Regions from separate parts of the Homo sapiens genome. Here regions 2, 3, 4, 5 and 6 are each linked to region 1. Evidence: promoter capture Hi-C in 16 types of primary human blood cells and fetal thymus (Javierre and others, 2016). All regions are on one chromosome and are shown on one strand. The core of a region is centred on a gene start or on the middle of the fragment in contact, and the rest is flanking DNA. Distances in the headings are between cores, read along the strand shown. Region 1 holds the start of RIC8B (RIC8 guanine nucleotide exchange factor B). Region 2 overlaps TCP11L2 (t-complex 11 like 2). Region 3 overlaps TCP11L2 (t-complex 11 like 2). Region 4 overlaps POLR3B (RNA polymerase III subunit B). Region 5 overlaps POLR3B (RNA polymerase III subunit B). Region 6 overlaps POLR3B (RNA polymerase III subunit B).

Region 1 (3,132 bases), core at 394-2,893:
ACAATATGTACAACTATGCATTGAATGAGTTATTCCTAAATTAGGCAGACATGTTCAACAATAAAGTGTATCAGAAAGTGAAGGAGCTAAGATATGAATAGATAGAACCTATGAATCTTCCCAAGGAAAGCAACACAGTACGGCAGAAAGAGCGCTCGCTGGACTTGGAGTTGGACAACGTAAATTCAAATCTCAGCTCTATCTCTCAGTGGCTGTGTGGACTTGGGACCACATTATCATTCTAAATTTTATCATTTGTGAATTGGGGAATACCATCACTCTCCTCCCAGGGTTGTTGGGAAGATTAAACGGGAATTCAGCCACCAGTATGCCATTTCTGCCCCGGGTGGAAAAGATTCAAAAATAAGACACCAATTGTCAGTAATACAAAGTGGATGGATGCAGTGGTGGACACAAAGCAAACACTGAAGGGGAGACGATGTACGGGGGCAAAAGAAAGAAAAACATTAACAGCTAGGTTGTGACTTGGTGTTGGGTGTGTTTTCACAGAAGGGAGTCGCCAGTCATTCCTATAAAGCAGTCTTCTAAACCAAAGGATAAAGGTGTGGTAGGCTATCTTTTGAAGTGAGCATGTAAAATTCCTGGAAGGAAAAGTAATGAAGAGCTAACGGTTCTTGGAAAGAGGTTCTGAGAAGTGACTGGGATTTATAACAAGATACTCTTTTACGCAGAGTTGTGAAGTGGAAAGAACTAAACTGGAATACCAGCTCCAAGTATGACCTTGGGCAAGTTACTTAACCAATCTAGAGTCTCAATTGCAAAATGCAGATAATACCTCACAGGATTGCTGTAAGATTAAATAAGATAATGGATAGGAAAGCTGTTAATGCGATACAAATAACAGGTATCATTAGGAGTTACATTCTCCACCCACTTACAACATTATATGTCCATGACCTTGGGCGTGATTTCAGCTCTTTGCACCTCGGTTTCCTCATCTATAAAATGGGGAGGATGATACCATCTACCCTATAAACACTCTGAGGATCAAAGGAGACCATAGATGAGACATCAATGCCTTGAAAACCGTACAGTGCTAAACGTATAGAAACTGCCATCGTTGCTGATACATTTGATGCATGTCAAGGGCCGTGTTTATGCAGGGAAGCACGTATTTTTATGCTATACAGGTGAGGAAGCCTCTCATGCATTTATGCATCCAGGAGTGGGGCACGGGGCACAGATGCACATCTACGGATTCCGGGGGTGTGACTTGCACGCTTGAGAGGAGGACCGGAGGTCAAGCTGCTGGGCCAGGAATCAGAGGAGTGGGCGCTACAGTGGGGGTAGTGGGATGCAGGATGCATGGATGGAAAAGGCTGGGGGCACAAACACGCATGCCCAAGCCGGAAACGTTTTCGGGGGAGAGCAATGCGCATCCCCGGAATGAGGGGGGTGGGGAAGGATGCGATGTGCAAGCACGGAGGGCGGCCCGGGGGTGCGATACCGCACGCCCGGGGCCAGGACTCTTTACCTTGTCGCTGTAATCCCTCAGGACCCGCTCGATAGCCCCTGCTTCGCCGGCCCGGACGATGTAGAGGGCGCGCTCCTCATCCATGGCCGCAGGTGCGGGGGAGCCGCGGCCGCTCTGCGCGCCCAAGCCGCTGCCTCCAGGTAAACGCCTCGCGCCCCCGCTCGCTCCTTCCCAGCTTCCTTCCTTCCCTCTTTCCCTCCCTCCGTCCTGCCTCCAACCCGCCAGCCTCCGCCCGGGCCGGCCCGACGTCACCGCCCCTCAACTTTCACCCCGCGACGTCACCGCTCCCCCAGCAACCGGCGCCTCACGGCCGCCCCTGACAAGGCCCAGGACTCGGTCGAGGCCTGGCTAGCGGACCGAGGCGGAGTCAGGCCCAAGGCCCTGCTTGCTCTCCTGCCTCTCCCTCCCTCGGAGAACTGTCCAGTCTTTTAAGGGGGCTTTCACAGACTGAACCGTTCTTCTTTCCTGACCCTCCTCTATGAATCATTCTCAAAGGACTAGAGCAACCCGGCTCTTCCCCGCCCATCTATGAACCAGCCGCTAAATGGACTGCAATTCCCTGCATGCAATGGGGCTATCCCGCTCTTCCATCTAATTTACTGGCGTGCCGAATGGCATGCTGGGATTGGTAGTCATCCAGCCGGAAAGAATTCCCGCCAAGGGCATGCTGGGAACTGTGGTACCGCGAGGGCCGGAAACGGGAGTCTGGCGGCCGCCTGAGGCCAGCGGCGGGGAGACCGTTAGAGGGAGGGTCTAAGCGTCTGCTTCGGTTTTGTTCGTTATGTCGCTGACTGTCCTGCTTCAGTCTCGGCTGGCTGGGCTGGCTGGACTGGCCGACGGTCGCGGAAACTGCCATCCCTTGGTGGGAACTGTCAAGCACGGTTTAATTCCCTTTTCTCATTTAGCGGTTTCGGTCTCGGGAATTCCTTCCACCCTTATTTGCGTTCTTGTTATGTACTCAGCTACAGTAATGTGGGAAATAATTGAAGGCAGTTATCTGGATAAAAGAGGACTCGGCGATTTTCTGCCTTAATACTAATCTCTAGCATGCATCTCGTGCCACCGGGGCTCCAGACTCTCTTAGGTAATTTCCCTATATCCTCTAATTCTCCCAACACAAATTTTTGTGGAAATAAAAAGGAACCCGAATAGTTTCAGTAATTTATCCTAAGTCACACGGCCAGAGAATGGGAAAGTCGAGGTTTGAAACCAGGCCTTTCCCCCCGAAGCGGCCGCTCTACGACCTCCGGGAACTGTAATAATACCGATACAGTAGCGGTGGTGGTGATGACAAAGATTCCCATTGCCCCGGTGGTAATTACGTGTCAGGCACTCTGTTAATACTTCACCTGTGTTAGCTCAATCAATTTCATACACATTCATTCAACAAATATTTGAGAGCCTGTGCTGTGCCCAGGTGCTGTTAAATGCAGTGTGGATACAGTGGGCCCAAAGTAAAGTCCCTGCCTTCATGGAGCTTCCATTCTAGTGAGCACCCATATGAGTTATTCTCATTTTAAGATGAGGAAACTGAGTCTTGGAGAGGTTAGTTGGTTAATTTATCAAAATTGCAGATTTTTGGAAACTGAATTTGAACTCAGAGCCTGTGCTCTTTCTGCTCTCCCAAGCTTTTTTTT
Region 2 (3,132 bases), core at 164-2,663, 460 kb after region 1:
CCTTGCTTCACCCCTTATGTCAATCCCTTAAAATAGGTGCACGTTAAAATACACATTCCTACCTAACTTCTCTACCATTTAGCAATAGTTTTTAGAAAACCACATGTCCCTCCACTGTAATTACTGACGAGGCTCTTTCCCCACAGAGCTATATACCTTTCCTAAGCAGAGGCCATAAGTCCTCCAGGTAGGTACTTACCATTGTGCCTAGTACAGTGCCTGATATATAGTGACTGCTTAACAAATGCATGCATGGTGAATGAATTCATAATTTGATAAGTATATCTCTTTTTTTCTGAGACAGAGTCTCACTCTGTCGCCCAGGCTGCAGTGCAGTGGCGCAGTCTCAGCTTACTGCGGCCTCCGCCTCCCAGGTTCAAGTGATTCTCATGCCTCAGCCTCCCAAGTAGCTGGGATTACAGGCATGCACTGCCACACCCAGCTAATTTTTGTACTTTTAGTAGAGACAGGGTTTCACCACGTCGGGCAGGCTGGTCTTAAACTCCTGACCTCAGGTGATCTGCTCACCTCAGCCTCCCAAAGTGCTGGGATTACAGGTGTGAGCCACTGCGCCCGGCTAAGACTTTATCTTTAAACAAAGGCAATGTGTCCTAACTCTGTACTTTGTTTCCCTTGCTCACATTTTCTAGCCATGGCAGAAACTGAAGGGAAGAGAGATTAATATTTTCCATAGTATCAAAGTATTTATGTGCAAGGCACTTTTATGCTAGTGAGTATGCATTTGAAGTGAGTAGTGTAGCCCCCTTCTTATTCTTGGGAAGTGTGAGGTTCAGGTATGGTCTCAGCAAAGCCAGGATTCAAACCCCACAGTCTGTCTGAGCCTAAAATGCCTTCACTATGGCCTGTACTCGCCACTTTTGAATTTAAAGTACAGATATGCCCTGTCTTTTGCTTTACCTCATAAAAAATACAAATTTTAACTTTAAAACAAGACTCCATCTCAAAAAATTCATTTGTATTAGTCAATAAATGTTTATTAAACATCCAATATGTGTAGGGCCCTGTTTTAGGAACTGGGAATACTACAGTGAAAAGAAAGTCTCTGACCTCAAAAAGCTTATATGTTAGCAGGGACAAAAAGGCAAAAAATACATTAAAAATGAATACGACAATTTCAGACCTATGAGAAAGAATAAGACAATGTGGTACACAGTTACAGAGAGGGTGCTGATTTCACTGGATGGTGGGAAAAAGCCTCTTTAAGTCAGTGACCTTTGTGTTCAGACTCAGAAGGGGAGAGCAAAGAGCCATGTGAAGGTCTGGGAAAAGAACATTCAAAAAGAAGAAGTCAGAGGAACAAAGTTTATGAGACAAGATCCAGATTGGTGAACCCTGAGGTAAGGAAGGAAGCCAGTGTGGCTGAAGCACAGCAAGCAGGAGGGACAGCACTGAGATGGGGTCAGGGGAGTGGGGCCATCCAGGCCATAGGAAAATGCTTAGATTTTTGGTCTCTGAGTAAGTGAAAACCATTGAAGAGTTTTTGGCAAAGAAATCATCTAATATAGCTCATTCTTTAAAAACATCATTAAGGCTACTGGATATGGAAGATGAACTGTTGGGGGCTAAGAAAGGAGACACGGCAACCAGTTAGGACTGAAAGGGTCCAGGCCACAGATGACGGTGGCCTAGCCTAGGGCTGTAGCAGTAGAGCTGGTATCAAGGGTCATGGCAAAATGCAAGTTACCAAAGGAAACCAAACAGATACACCCACGATACATGGCAAGCTTAAAAAATGTTAATATTAAATGAACAACATCCCCAAGAGGACTATGATCCACATTTTAAAGAAGAAGAGTTATTACATTGACTTCCTTTACTTTTCCTGCTTTAAAACAAATGAAAAAGTTCTGAATGGGATCAAATATTCTAAGTTGTCTTAACTGATAGAATGCCTCAGGATTTATAATTGGTACTGTAAGGTTGAAAATTCAATCCACGAACCAACTTTGCTTCTAAAGACGACTGATCTGTAATAATAGTCTCAAGCCTCTTCTCTTTGTCTCAGGAAACCTGTGAGCCACTGACTCCAGAAAGGCTGAAGTAGGATCCAAAGGGGTGGCTCCAACTAGAGGTCGGAGGGCGAGGTTAACCAGGAAGTGCCTCTTGCAGCTGTGATTCCTACCTCCAGACATTTCTGGATTGCCTGCTTTTAGCACTTTGACAGTTCAGGTGCATTTATTTATTCTTCAGAACCTGAGTATCAGTTTTCCATAAATCAATGTGCAAATATGTCTTGAGCCTGTACTGTATGTCAGGCACTATGCTAGACAATAGGGATACAGCAACAAACAATACAGACATAGCTCCTCCATAAATAGTGCATTTCAATCAAGTGGGGAAGATGGACATCAAACATAAAATTATAAGACCTCTTAACAAAAAGGAGGCAGCAAGGGCTACAGGTGTCTGTAGCAAAGGGATTAATTGTAGTCTAGGGGGTTCACCAATGTCAGAAAAAGCTTCCCTCAGGAAGTGACATATAAACTGAGTTCTAAAGATTATGGGTAATATGTATCCTAGGGGAATTTTTTTGTTTGTTTGTTTTTGTTTTTGTTTTTTGAGACGGAGTACTCTGTTGCGCAGGCTGTAGTGCAGTGGTGCGATCTCGGCTCACTGAAACCTCCACCTCCTGGGTTCACGCAATTCTCCTGCCTCAGCCTCCCAAGTAGCTGGGATTACACGCGCCCCACCACCATGGCCGGCTAATTTTTGTGTTTTTAGTAGAGGTGAGGTTTCACCACGTTGGCCGGGCTGGTCACAAACAGGAATTTTTTTTTTTTTTTTTTGAGACAGGGTCTTGCTCTGTCACCCAGGCTGGAGTGTAGTGGCATGATGAGAGCTCACTGCAGTCCCTGAACTCCTGGGCTCAAATGATCTTCTTGACTCAGCCTCCCCGGTACCTGTAATTACAGGCTCATGCCACCATGCTGGATAATATTTTTATTTTTATTTTTTACAGAGATGGGGTCTTGCTTTGCTGCCCAGGCCAGTCTCAAACTCCTGGCTTCAAGGAATCCTCCCGCCTCCACCTCCCAAAGTGATGGGGTTACAGGTGTGAGCTATCACACCCAGCGAGAATTTTTTTAAAACAAGTATAAGACCTTGTTAGAG
Region 3 (3,132 bases), core at 403-2,902, 440 kb after region 1:
AAGAGGGAAAAACTCCTTCTAGTTTTCAAGATGCATCATCAAACCCAATATAAATGACATCTTGGTCTATTATTTAGTACTATCCCTTTTTTTAATACTATGAATGCTATTGCCCCATCCGTAATGAGGATAATTGAGAATTGATTGTATTGATTTCCTAACACAGGAAAAAAATTTAAACAATGAAACAACCAGATAAACAACCAGATACAATTATAAAGAGGATGATTTAATGACTAGTTATTAATAGCTAGCATTCATTGAGTACATATTACGTGCCACACATCTGTACCTGAATCATCTTAAGTTCTCACAACTCCAAGGTAGATATTAATACAATTATTATTCCCTTCTTACAAGTGAGGAAGTCAGGCTCATAGTAATTTGAGAACATATTCAAGTGTTCATAATAAGTCAGTAGCAGAGCTGGGATTTAAACCCTGGTCCATCTGACCCGAAAGCCTGTCTTCTTAGTAACCACTTTCTGTATACTTTATAATAACATTTCAGCAGCACTGGGTATTCCCTAAAGGCTTAATAAATAAAAGTTTCTGGAAAGTAATGACTACCCATGCAGGGAAATCATAAGATAAGACCAACTGCAAAATCAGAGGTTTCCTTTCATTATAGGTCTTGGTCCTGGAATATTAATGAGCATCAGAATCAGGAGAAAGGTCAGATCAGGGCTCAGTCCTTGGTCTGCCCTTTTCTGTTTGCAGCCCAAGGCAAATTCTATTCTATCTGTAAGCTTCAGTTCAAAATGAGAAGTTGGATTCTGTAACTACATGGGCTCCTTTTGGCTCTTAATAGTCTAGGATTTCATCAAGTAATTTATATGCTCTCTGAATAATAGGTGGGAGGATGAGAAGACAGGTGCATTTCCCTTCAATTACAGGAATAAAGAGGACATGCCTCTGAAGACACCTGAAAGGGGAACCAGCAGAAGCTGATCCATAAGAGACCCATAGAACCATCTGGCCATTCACCAAGACTAAGAATTTCTGACTTAGATAGGAATTCCTATTGGATGATGTAAATGCAAAATCTAAATGGGATTCTAGCATTCATGAAGGTGTAATACTGGAGATAAATTTAGCAAAAACCAAAATCTTCACTGGACTGTGTCACATCTCTGAAGGGCAGAATTGTCAGCACTTCTGAAGACTTCGTAGCAAGGTGGATTTGTGAAGTCAGTAAACATTTCACTGCAGAAAAATGATGAAGTCAGAACAACTGGAGGAAAGCCCTCTTCAATAGCACAATTCTAGGGAGGCCGAGATGGGTGAGTCATGAGGTCAAGAGATCGAGACCATCCTGGCCAACATGGTGAAACCCGGTCTCTACTAAAAATACAAAAATTAGCTGGGCGTGGCGGCGCATGCCTGTAGTCCCAGCTACTTGGGAGGCTGAGGCAGAAGAATTGCTTGAACCCGGGAGGCGGAGGTTGCAGTGAGCTGAGATTGCGCCACTGCACTCCAGCCTGGTGACAGAGCGAGATTCTGTCTCAAAAAAAAAAAAAAAAAAAAAAAATTGCGCAATTCTAAACATCAAGCTTGGCAGATTTCTGTGTTTCATTTGTTTTTTTCCAAAGCACTGTCAAAGAAAAGCTGTTGTACACATTCATTGTAAGTGGAAATACTACACTCACCCTGGCACTTGTCATGGAAAACACCTCTCCCTTCCTATGAGAGGACATCTAAGCCTTCAGAGATATTAAAGGAAATTCTAGAAAAAGGTGTAAGATAAGCTTCTCTAAAGCACAGTCCTGAATCTCACATCCAGATGTCCAAGGTCATTCTTGTTCTCTGAGACACATGCAGAGCCTTAATACAAGAGGGAGCAGATGCAAAAATTTGGAACTTACTCTTTGTTCATGCCTTCAAGTAGAACAGCTGAAATCCTTGTTAACCTGCTTGCAAGCTCAGGCAGGCCTCCTGTAATAGCACCCACCATGTTGTTGGTAATTAGGGACAGGCAGGCAATAATTTTCAATTGATTCAGCTTTTCTGTTAGTTCCTGAAGACGTGCTCCATCTGTCATAAGTGTCTAACATATTTATTTAAAATATAAAAATAGAAAGGGTAGCTCAATAGCATGAAAATACAAAACAGGCAATGTCATTTCCAAATTCCCATTTTTATCTGATTTTTGTAAAGTCATTAAACCACATGAAACACAGACCAGATGATTCAAAGTTAGAACTTAAGAATAAAAATACTGGGAAATTTGGGTGAAGAACAAAACCACTCACCTCTGGTAATTCTTTTTTCTGATAATCCCACTGTAACAGTTTCAAGTAACTATTATTTAGCACCAAAGTAGGGCTCAGGCTTGGCTTGGAGGTATTTTCGGCCCCAGGAGTTAAAGCACTCTCAGAAAGAGAAAATAATTCTTCATTTACAGATTCTTTTATCCATTCTGTAGTCTGATCAAGAGCACCTAAGAGTGAAAAGGCCACATATTTGTTCTACAGCTGATTGATCCCTTCACTGGTGTATTCCACTTGACAGATGCTGTGTTGGGTGCTGGGCATGAATGAGAAGACACAGCCATGCCCTGCAAGGAGTTTACAGTCCAGATGGAAAGGCAGACCTGTAAACTAACAATTATAACAGAGTACAATGAATGCTAGTAATTGTGGGAAAGAGGCTGTCCAGGAAAGAATCTAAGAGGAAGAGCTCTGTAAGTGCTCTGGAAAAGACAGCATATGGCACATTCTAGATGTCACATTCTGGATGCCACAAACAAATCTGTATTGCTGGTCCATAAAGAACTAGGGGTAAGAGGGTTGTAGCAAATGGCATTGGATGGGTGGTTAGAAGCCAGCCTTGAGTTTGTGCAGAGAAGGTATTTAGAGAAAAGGCATTAATTTTCACACATTTTTGGTAAAAGGTGAAAGATTTATACAATCTGAAGAGAAAATAGAGTATAATTATTACACATTTTTGGGTCTTGGACCACTTTTAATAACTAATTGGAGATATGCCTTTCCCAAAGTGAATGTGCACAATCACGTGCACATGTCCACAAACAATTGTCATTCTCTCTTACCAGATTGACAGTCCCCAGGTTACAAACACCAGCGATGGGAATGGGGAGTTTTGAATAATATTATTTTCTTTCTTTTCTTTT
Region 4 (3,132 bases), core at 317-2,816, 410 kb after region 1:
AACAAGTGGATGGCAATTAAAGGCACGTGATGGATGAGATCACCTATGGAATGTAGATGGAGAAGAGTTCCACAAAGTGAGACCAACCAAGAATAATCCAACAATCAGAGAGGAGGAGCAGGAGGCAGCTCCAGCAAAGGAGACCGAGGAGTGGCCAGGGAAGGTGGCAGACCCCTGGGTATAGTCAAAAACAAGAGAGGCAGGCAAAGCTAATCTATGATGACGGAAATCAAAAGGTGCTTGGGGGGATAGACTGAAAAGGGTCATAAGGGAACTTTCTGGGGTGATGCAATGTCCACATAGAGCACATAACTATAAAACCAATGTAACTGAATATCTAGTATCCATACATTTTATTATATAAATTACACCTAAATTTAAAAATAGAAGAATGACAATGATATAGGTTGAATTGTGTCCCTCTCAAAATTCATATGCTAAAGTCCTAATCCCCAGTATCTCAGAATGTGACTGTTTTTGAAGATGGGGTCTTGACAAAGGTGATTAAGTAAAATGAGTCATTAAGGTGAGCCCTAATCCAATACAACTGGTGTCCTTATAAAAAAGGAGAAATTGGACATAGAGATGCACACAGGGACAATGCCATGTGAAGATGAAGGTAGAGGTCTCAGTGAAGCTTCTGCAAGCCAAGGGATGCCAAAGATTGCCAGCAAACACCTGTAGTAGGGGACGGCCCAGAGCAGATCCTCTCTCATAGCCCTCAGAAGGAGCCAGCTCTGTTGTCACCCTGATCTCAGACTTCTAACTTCCAGAACTATGAGAAAACAAATTTCTGTTGTTTAAGCCACCTAGTTTGTGGTTACTTTGTTACGGCAGCCCTATGAGCTAATACTCCCACATCTTCAAATTCCTCTCTCTACACCCCTTCTTATACTCGTTTCCTCCCACTTCAAAGGAAGGACCATCCATTCCTTGGTCTAAGGCTAACCCTTCCGCCACAGACACAATCCTGCCAACCTTCTCCTGAAGACTGGAAACCTTGCCCCAGTTCAGTCCTTGATATTCAACCTGTTCTATTTAAAACGAGTATTCAAATCCTCCCATTAAAAAAAAAATTTAAAACTTTCTTGACTCAGCAGCTCCTCTGACTACTTTCTTCCCTGCCCTTCAGCTTACGATCTCTCCCAAATTACTCCATATTTAGCTTCTCTGTTCCTCACTTCCCACTCCTTCATTCCGTTATAGTCAGGACTCTGACCTACCTGCCAGTGAAAGAGCTCGACAGAGGTCACCAAGGCTGCTACTTCAAAAGACCTCCCTTGATGCCCCCTCACATTCCCTTTCCACAGTATTTGGCCATGCCGATCACTGTCTTATAACACTCTGTGGTATCATTCTCTTATGTCTTTCCTTCCTCCGGCCGGGCCTTGTCACACCTCTTTTTCTCTGCCACCCTGCAAATTTTGGTGTTCTTCAAAGTTCTATCCCTGGCGATGTCTTTTCTCAAGTAGGGCTGGGAATGGAGGATTTCAAACAACACTGTTTGAAAGTGTTGTTTAGCTTCCCCCATCTCATCCCACAGCCCCCCAGTTCCAAATGTGGGCTCTTTCAAGGGCAGTGACCCTGTCTATCCTGTTACCACAGTGCCTGGCACATAAAAGACTCCAATAAATACTGAATAAATAAATGAGTGAGTGAATATCACTGTTGCAGTAAGCTACTGGGTATGGGCCTGTCCCCTCCAACTATTGACTGGGCAGTGATACCTTACAGCCTCAGAGGCTACTTAAGATCAGTATGTCCAAAATTAAATCTTCCCCCAGCTCCATTCTCAATCTCAATGAATATCACCATTTATCCCAGTCAATCCCAAATTAGATACCCGGGAGTCCTAACTTTCTGACTCTTCTTAATCAACAGGAAAACAAAAATTCTACTGAGTCGACCTCCTTTTAACCTTCCTCGCATTTATCCTCTGCTCCTGTGCCAGTTGAGGCCCTCATAATCTTTCAGCTGGTCTGCGGCAATACTTCCTTACTACTCTTCCTGCTCGTCCCTTTCAATGCTCAGCACTAAAGCCAGTGTACATGTCCTCATGTGCACAGCTGAGCACCTCATTCTCTACAACTCTTCAGTGCCTCCCCACCCTCTTCACCATGTCTTAACTCCACAGCGAGGCATACATCATATGCTGTGCTTGCAGCTGTACTTGTGCCTACGCCTCCTCCTTCTATCTGGAATGCTTCCGCACCACCACACTTCATCCACATCTGGCAAACTCAGTTCAGGCATCACATCCTAGCTACCATTTGTAATACCAAAATACCCCTCGCCTACTTGTATCACAGTACCTATTGCATGTTATTCCACTTGCTTACACGTCTCTCTCTATAAGCCTATAACACACTGGGAGGCAGAAAACACATTTTTTGAACTTGTATAAACCCTGTGAATAATACACCACCAGGTAAGTACTCAGTAACACTGACAAATATTTATTCAACAAGTAACTGATTAATTGGCTCCAAAGCTTGTGTTGTTTCTACCATACTACCATGCTGCTGTGCTACCATAAGCACAAAAAAATACACACCAGGCATGGCCAGTTCAAGTAAAACTGAGCTCCTAACTAGAAAAAGTTGCAGCGAAAACACTGAAGTTGGAAAGTTTAAGTAAATATTTTAATATCTCAATTTAAAAGGAAATGGCAGCAAGTAGCAGAGATCTACCATCTTCTGGGAGAATCAGGAAAGGCCTTCCTAGGGAAGTTATATTATAGATATGTGGGATTTAATCTACAAATAGGAAGGGGAGAGCGATCCAGAAGAAACTGAGCAGAGTAGAAAGATCTCAGGGGAGGGAGAGGGGGGAACCATGGGAAAAGAGACTAGAGAAGTAAGCACTGGTCAGACTGAGGAAATTTATTACAAACATGGTAAACACTAGATTTTGCCCTAAGAGCAATAGGCAGAGATTGAAGAACTTTAACCAAGGGAGCAACATAACCATGTTTGTGTGTTTAAACGGACAGCTCTGGCTGCAGAGCAAGGAACAGACTGGATTGGGACAAGTCAGGTGCCAGGTAGGCCAGTTAGGAAGTAAGAGAGGACAGTCGTTCTGGGCTGGAAAACGGTGGGAATGAAGTTTCAGATATGCATAGATTAAGAACTC
Region 5 (3,132 bases), core at 319-2,818, 340 kb after region 1:
TATAGAGAAAAAGGGTCAGGACGGAAATAGACAGTTTTGTTGGCTTGAGTAATACAACGATGGAACTGTCATTTATGGGGCTACTATAAAATAGTTTTCTTTTATACTCAGGATACATATCTATATCTATATTTTTTTTGAGTAAGGGTCTCACTCTCTCGCCCAAGCTGGAATGCAGTGGTGTTCCAAGTATAGCTCACTGCAGCCTCAAACTGTGCTCAAGTGATCCTTCCACCTCAGCCTCCCAAGTAGCTGGGATCATAGGTGCACACCACAACACTTGGCTAACTTTTTTTTATTTTTAGTAGAGATGAGGTCTCACTGTGTTGCCCAGGTTGATCTCAAACTCCTGAGCTCCAGCAACCCTCATGCCTTAGCCTCCCAAATTGCTGGGATTATAGGTGTGACCCACCACACCTGGCCCTCAGTCAATTTTGAAATGAGGGGTATAAAATAGCACTTTGAGAGATTCACATCTTTAAGGAAGAAAAATTCTGACCAAAAACCACTATTTACAAAGTGCAAAAAATATATATATTTGCAATATATATATTGGCAACAGGGTTTGCTTTGTCACCCAGGCTGGAGTGCAGTGGCATGAACATGGCTCACAGAGCCTCCACCTCCTGGACTCATGCAATCCTCTAGCCTCAGCCCCCTGAGTTACTGGGACTACAGGCGTACATCACCACACCTGGCTAATTTTTAAGTTTTTTGTAGAGACGGGGTCTTGCCATGTTACCCAGGCTGGTAAATTATAATCTTCTAAAAAGTAATATATTTCATTTGGTAGCAGAAAACAGAAAAGTTTTTCTTTTTCCTGTTTTAAGAGATAGGTTCTTACCCAGGCTGGAGTGCAGTGGCACAATCATAGCTCAGTGTAACCCATAACTCCTGGGCTCAAATGATCCTTCCACCTCAGCCTCCCAAGTAGCTAGGACTACAGGTGTGTGCCACTGTGTCCAGCTAATTTTTTATTTTTATTTTTAGACATAGGGTCTTGCTATGTTGTCCAGGCTGGTCTCAAACTCTTGGCCTCAGGCGATTCTCCTGCCTCAGTCTCCCAAAGCACTGGGATTATAGGGGTGAGCCATTACACTGGGTCAGAAAAGTACTTATTCTTGATTGAAGACATAAATAGTTATTAGGTGGTAGTATTAAACTCTCTAGCAATATATCTGCAAGAATTCCAATTTCAGGTAAGTGGTACATCAGTCACATGCATCAGACAGCAAGTTACATAGATGTTCTTTAATGTACTCTAAAATGGAACACAGATGCTTCTAAAAATATCATTGTTCAAGAAGAAATATTGTGAACATACTACCAATTCAAGTGCATACTGCACATAAACTTAGAGTTTTTGAACAGACTATGTAGAGAATTCCTGCACTGACAAGAATTCAGATGTCCATGGACAAAAATCATCTCTAACAGAGGTAAGTATATTTTTATACAGCTTGATTCATTAGTTCAACTTTGGCAGTAATCAAGTATTAAAATCAGAGAAGCAACTCCTTTTAAAAAATACACATTAAGGCTGGGCATGGTGGCTCATGCCTGTAATCCCAACTACTCAGGAGACTGAAGTGGGAGGATCACTTGAGATCAGGAGTTTTAAGTTTCACTGAGCTATGTTGTGCCACTGTACTCCTTCAGGGTGACAGAGCAAGACCTTGTCTCAAAAAAAAAAAAACATATATATGGTTTTATATACATATATATATATGGTTATCTATCTATATGGATATATGGATATATCTTTCTATGAGTGTGTGTGTGTATATATATAAACTGTCACACGAATAGGAAGGATAATTAAATCTAAAGATGACTTGTTAGCTGCTTTGTAATACTCTTCACTAGGATAAATGATGCGTTATGCTCTGCTATAAAATTGTATATTTCTTTATGGTACATACAGAAATATACAATATACATATATACCATGAAATACTATGCAGTCATAAAAAGGAACAAGATCATGTCCTTTGCAGAGACATGGATGAAGCTGGAAGCCATCCTCAGCAAACTAACACAGGAACAGAAAACCAAACACCGCATGTTCTCACTCACAGGTGGAAGCTGAACAATGAGAACACATGGACACAGGGAGGGGAACAACACACACCAGGGGGACTGTTAGGGGGTTGGGGGAGGAAGAGCATCAAGATAAATAGCTAATGCATGCTGGGCTTAATACCTAGGTGATGGGTTGATAGGTACAGCAAACCACCATGGCCCACGTTTACCTATGTAACAAACCTGCATGTTCAAACAAAAAAAAGAAGATTGTATATTTCTAACAGTTCCTGTCAAAAGAGTAAAAGATAGAAGGACTGAAGATGACAGTAAAAGAGAAGGTAGTTTCTATAGTCAGAACACGTTTTAATTATGGTTGCTATGGATCCTACTTACTTATTAATTGTGTGTTCGTACAGTGCAATGTTACAATCATTTTCTTCATTCACATCTAAATATTCAACCAGACTCTCATGTAAGAAATCTTCAAAATTCCTGGGAAAATATTGGTGAAAGAGACATCATTAAAAAGCATTTTTCTGCAGTATTTTATATAATAACAGGAGATACTGGCTTTCGTTTAGGCCCAAAGCACCTTTCTCTCCCAGAGAATATCATTACATTGGGATACCTGAAACATGTTATTCTTAGCTCACACAGTAACCACAAACTGCTGAAATAAAAACAGCAAAGTGTCTGTCTGTAACTCTTGTGAACCTAGTCCCCACTTCTTAAAAAAAAAATTCTGACCTTAGAAACCTCATAATGAGACCCACAGTGTCTACACTGACACATGATGTAAGTCCTTTTCTTACCAGAAACACTTACTTGTGTACTAACTGACATCAAGACTAGGTAACCCTCATGATCTAAATTGATGAATATTTTACAATGTCCAAGCAAGTTCACATGGAGCAAAATAGGTTTTTAACAGGCTGGTAATTTGGTGGAAAGAAATTAAAACACTAAAATGAAAATACACTTTTCTTAAATCATGTATGTGGGTATTAAGGAGATTGGTAAGTTTTACTTTTGGCTACTTACCTGTACCCTTGGGCCAGCTCTTCCATATGTTTATTTGTGACTGCTGGCTTCTGTTTCTTGACAATT
Region 6 (3,132 bases), core at 415-2,914, 290 kb after region 1:
AGCAAGTCCTGTTGGCTCTATCTCCAGAGTATGTCCAGAATCCAGTCACTTCTCTCTATTTTTCCACTGCTGCTGTCCTAGTCCAAGCCACCACCCTTTCTTGCCTGGACCACTGCAATGGTCTCCCTGCCCCCTTCCTTGCCCGTTCCAATCCACTTTTCATATAGAATCCACAGTGAGCTCTAGAAGTTGTAAGTTAGATCTCGTCACTCCTTTGCTTATATTCATTTTTATGGTTTGTATGTACCCACAAAAACTCATGTTGAGATTTAATTGATATGGGGCCTTTAAGAGGTGGTTAGGTCATAAGGACTCCATTCCCATGAATGGATTAATGCCATTATTACAGACTTGGGTTACTTATCTCAGGACTGGTTTGGTTATAAAAGCAAGCTCTCCTGCCCCTCTGCCTGTCTGCCACGGGATGATCCTCTCCAGATGCTGGTGCCACGCTCCTCCACTTCCAAGTCTTTAGAACCATAAGCCAAATAAACTTCTTTTCTTTATAAATTATCCAGTCAGTGGTATTTTGTCATAGCAGCAGAAAATGGACCAAGACACCCACCATCCAACGGTTCTGTTGGTTCCCAGCATATCTGGAGTAAAGTCCAATCTCCTTTCTTTTAGCCAAAAGGCCCTATAGGATATGCCCCCATCATCCTTCTGTCACTCCCCAAGTCTCATACTGTGCTGCTTGTCAGGCATATGCCTGGCCAGACTGGCCTTTTTTCTGTTCCTTGAATATACCAAGCTTATTCGTGCCTCAGAACTCTTACCCTAATGATTCTCTCTGCCTATAACTAAATCCTCCCAGACTTTTGCTCGGCTGGCTCCTTTGTATCCTTCGTGTCTCAGCTCAATGTCGCTTCCTCCGAGAGGCTGTTCCTGATCGTAATCTAAAGTACACACCCCCACCTCTAAACCATCCACTCTTTTATATCATTCTTCATATATGGCACTTATCATTACCTTCAATTATCCTGTTTATATTTTTGTTTACACTTTTTTTTCTTGAAATGGAGTCTTGCTATACTGCCCAGGCTGGTCTCAAACTCCTGGGCTCAAGTGATCCTCCTGCCTCAGCCTACTAAGTAGTTGGGGTTTATATTTTTGTTTACTTCTTTTTTGTCTGTTTCCTCCCCAAGGAGAACACAAATCCCGGGAGAACAGAGACCCCATCAGTCTTGTTTACCTCTGTATTTCCAGTATTTAGAACAGTGCTTGGCACACAGTGAAAGCTCAATAAATGGATGAATTAATCAACAATATAGGCACTCGAGATGATCTTCCATCATCTCACCATCTCAAGTCAGTGAGACACAAATGCTTTGTGATTGGTGCCATCGTTTACCGGATTAAAACCACAGTCCCCGTGGTTTTTCTTCTTTATGCTGTCTTTATTTCAGTCAGTCAAGTCCATTCATTTGCTCTTCTCTGCTGCCCCCTGTTTTTCTTTCACATCTTTATCAAAGCCCTCTAAGCCTGAACCCCATCTAGTCTCTGAGGGCTTCCTTTACCAGGCAGCCTGCAAGAGAAGACCCAAGACAGACCTGCCCGCAGCTCACCTTTACTGCCTCCTGTCTGTGCATCAGGCACTGTGTTCCCTGCTTTTACACATTAGTATCAAGGAGGCCAAGACATAAAGGGACAAAATAGTTCACCTAGTTGGAGTTCAAGACCTTTCTCTCTCTGCTATACTTTTCGTCAATCCGAGGGCTTTCTTTAAATACTGAACAGAGGATGGCTGTGATGAAAAGGCAATATGTTCATTCAGTATGGCCCACAAGACAAGGCAGGACTAACTGCAGTAACTTATAGACTCTTGAGCACTCTTACTAACTCTTGAGCACCTCTGACTCAAGAAAACTATCAGAGCAGTGCTACTACAGAAGAGGCTGCCTCAGAAAATAGCAAGGGCCTCCCTTCACAGGCCACAATCAACATGGAAAACCATCTGCCAAAGATAATCTAAAAAGAACTCTTATACTAGAAGATGGATTTAGACTGGACTTCTAAAAGGACTTTTCAAACTCTAAGATTCTATTCCTATCTATGGTAAACTCTAAACCTCTATATTTTTAGTGGTTTCTCCCATATAATTTAGCATTTAACTATGTAATCCTTCGTATCCATCTTTTTGCTTCAGGTGTCAGTCAACTCCTCATGGGCATTAGTCAAGGGATTAATTTACTTTCTATCCCCTAAAGTGCCCCACACAGTTTTGAGCCCACAACAGTAACTTAAAAATGACCGAATAGGTTTCCCTGGGGCTGTCAAGGCAGGTTCTCATTTGTGCCTGGGATGGACGTGGGTGGGCATGTATACAGTTGACCCTTGAATAACACAGGTCTTAACTGTGCAGGTCCACTTATATGGGGATTTTTCTTCAATGAGATATGAATCGAAAATACAGCATTTGCGGAATGTGAGCCCTTCTCCACAGAGGGACAACTTTTCATATATTTGGGTTTTACAGGCCCAACTGTGGGACTTGAATATATGCAGGGGTCCTGGAACCAATTCCCAGCATATACTGAGGGATAACTATATTTAGTTATTATGGCTGAAGAAGCTTTAGTGGGCCTGTGTGATCAGTTAGGGTTGGGGAGCTATGAGTCTTAGGTGTTGAAACTCCTGGTGCCAGTTTAGATAAAAATGAGGCATCTCATTTCTGATATTTACTAGGAAGAATAAATTACACTTATTCTGGGAGTAGTGAGTTTGGCTTGTTATGTCAGTACAATTTCCAACAAGACCAATGAATATGTAAAATCCTTTATTTAATAAAGGATTCCTCAAACATCATAAGTGGATACCATATTATATGCAAAGTGCTATGCTGGGTGCTTTGGGGTTAAGTAAATCAGCAGGGCATGTTTCCTAATCTCAACGAACCTAAAATATACTTACCTAAGTGATATGGTTTAGATTTGTGTCCCCACCCAAATCTCGTGTCAAATCCCCAGTGTTGGAGGAAGAACCTGGTGGGAGGAGATTGGATCATGAGGTGGATTCCCCCCTCGCTGTTCTCATGATAGTGAGTGAGTTCTCACAGGAACTGGTTGTTTTAAAGTGTGTAGCACCTCCCCCTTCTCTCTCTTCCTCCTGCTCTGGCCGTGTAAGATGTGCCTG

What was found. Contacts are between HindIII fragments. The CHiCAGO score rates a contact against its expected background, and 5 or more counts as called.
Region 2: a contact is called between a fragment that was not itself captured here and the fragment with the promoter of RIC8B in region 1, in 1 of 17 cell types (fetal thymus). The highest score is 5.3, in fetal thymus.
Region 3: a fragment that was not itself captured here is called in contact with the fragment with the promoter of RIC8B in region 1 in 3 of 17 cell types (naive CD8 T cells, total CD8 T cells and fetal thymus); the score reaches 6.2 in naive CD8 T cells.
Region 4: a contact is called between a fragment that was not itself captured here and the fragment with the promoter of RIC8B in region 1, in 6 of 17 cell types (activated CD4 T cells, total CD8 T cells, total CD4 T cells and 3 more). The highest score is 7.4, in activated CD4 T cells.
Region 5: a fragment that was not itself captured here is called in contact with the fragment with the promoter of RIC8B in region 1 in 2 of 17 cell types (total CD4 T cells and naive CD4 T cells); the score reaches 5.5 in total CD4 T cells.
Region 6: a contact is called between a fragment that was not itself captured here and the fragment with the promoter of RIC8B in region 1, in 1 of 17 cell types (naive CD4 T cells). The highest score is 5.0, in naive CD4 T cells.

Annotation. Positions count from the first base shown.
Region 1 is chr12:106,773,193-106,776,324 of GRCh38, reverse strand. RIC8B (RIC8 guanine nucleotide exchange factor B) reads right to left here and starts at 1,643. Exons shown (of 10, transcript NM_001330145.2): 1 at 1,496-1,643. The coding sequence starts at 1,579. It overlaps LOC100287944 (a long non-coding RNA gene), which reads left to right and starts at 1,494. Exons shown (of 4, transcript NR_040246.1): 1 at 1,494-1,635. RefSeq lists enhancers at 1,123-1,172, 1,943-2,494 and a silencer at 1,503-1,732. The HindIII fragment of the contact is 11,909 bases long and covers 1-3,125 here.
Region 2 is chr12:106,314,681-106,317,812 of GRCh38, reverse strand. All of the region lies in intron 3 of TCP11L2 (t-complex 11 like 2), which reads right to left. Among named protein-coding and RNA genes, the nearest start is that of TCP11L2, 14 kb to the right of the region's middle. The HindIII fragment of the contact is 668 bases long and covers 1,080-1,747 here.
Region 3 is chr12:106,334,946-106,338,077 of GRCh38, reverse strand. It overlaps TCP11L2 (t-complex 11 like 2), which reads right to left. Exons shown (of 10, transcript NM_152772.3): 7 at 2,252-2,439; 8 at 1,865-2,046. Among named protein-coding and RNA genes, the nearest start is that of POLR3B, 21 kb to the left of the region's middle. The HindIII fragment of the contact is 195 bases long and covers 1,555-1,749 here.
Region 4 is chr12:106,360,061-106,363,192 of GRCh38, reverse strand. All of the region lies in intron 1 of POLR3B (RNA polymerase III subunit B), which reads right to left. Among named protein-coding and RNA genes, the nearest start is that of POLR3B, 3.9 kb to the right of the region's middle. The HindIII fragment of the contact is 1,854 bases long and covers 640-2,493 here.
Region 5 is chr12:106,437,066-106,440,197 of GRCh38, reverse strand. It overlaps POLR3B (RNA polymerase III subunit B), which reads right to left. Exons shown (of 28, transcript NM_018082.6): 17 at 3,067-3,132; 18 at 2,419-2,517. Among named protein-coding and RNA genes, the nearest start is that of POLR3B, 81 kb to the right of the region's middle. The HindIII fragment of the contact is 4,381 bases long and covers 1-3,132 here.
Region 6 is chr12:106,482,472-106,485,603 of GRCh38, reverse strand. The region is part of intron 23 of POLR3B (RNA polymerase III subunit B); the gene reads right to left. Among named protein-coding and RNA genes, the nearest start is that of RFX4, 99 kb to the left of the region's middle. The HindIII fragment of the contact is 1,821 bases long and covers 754-2,574 here.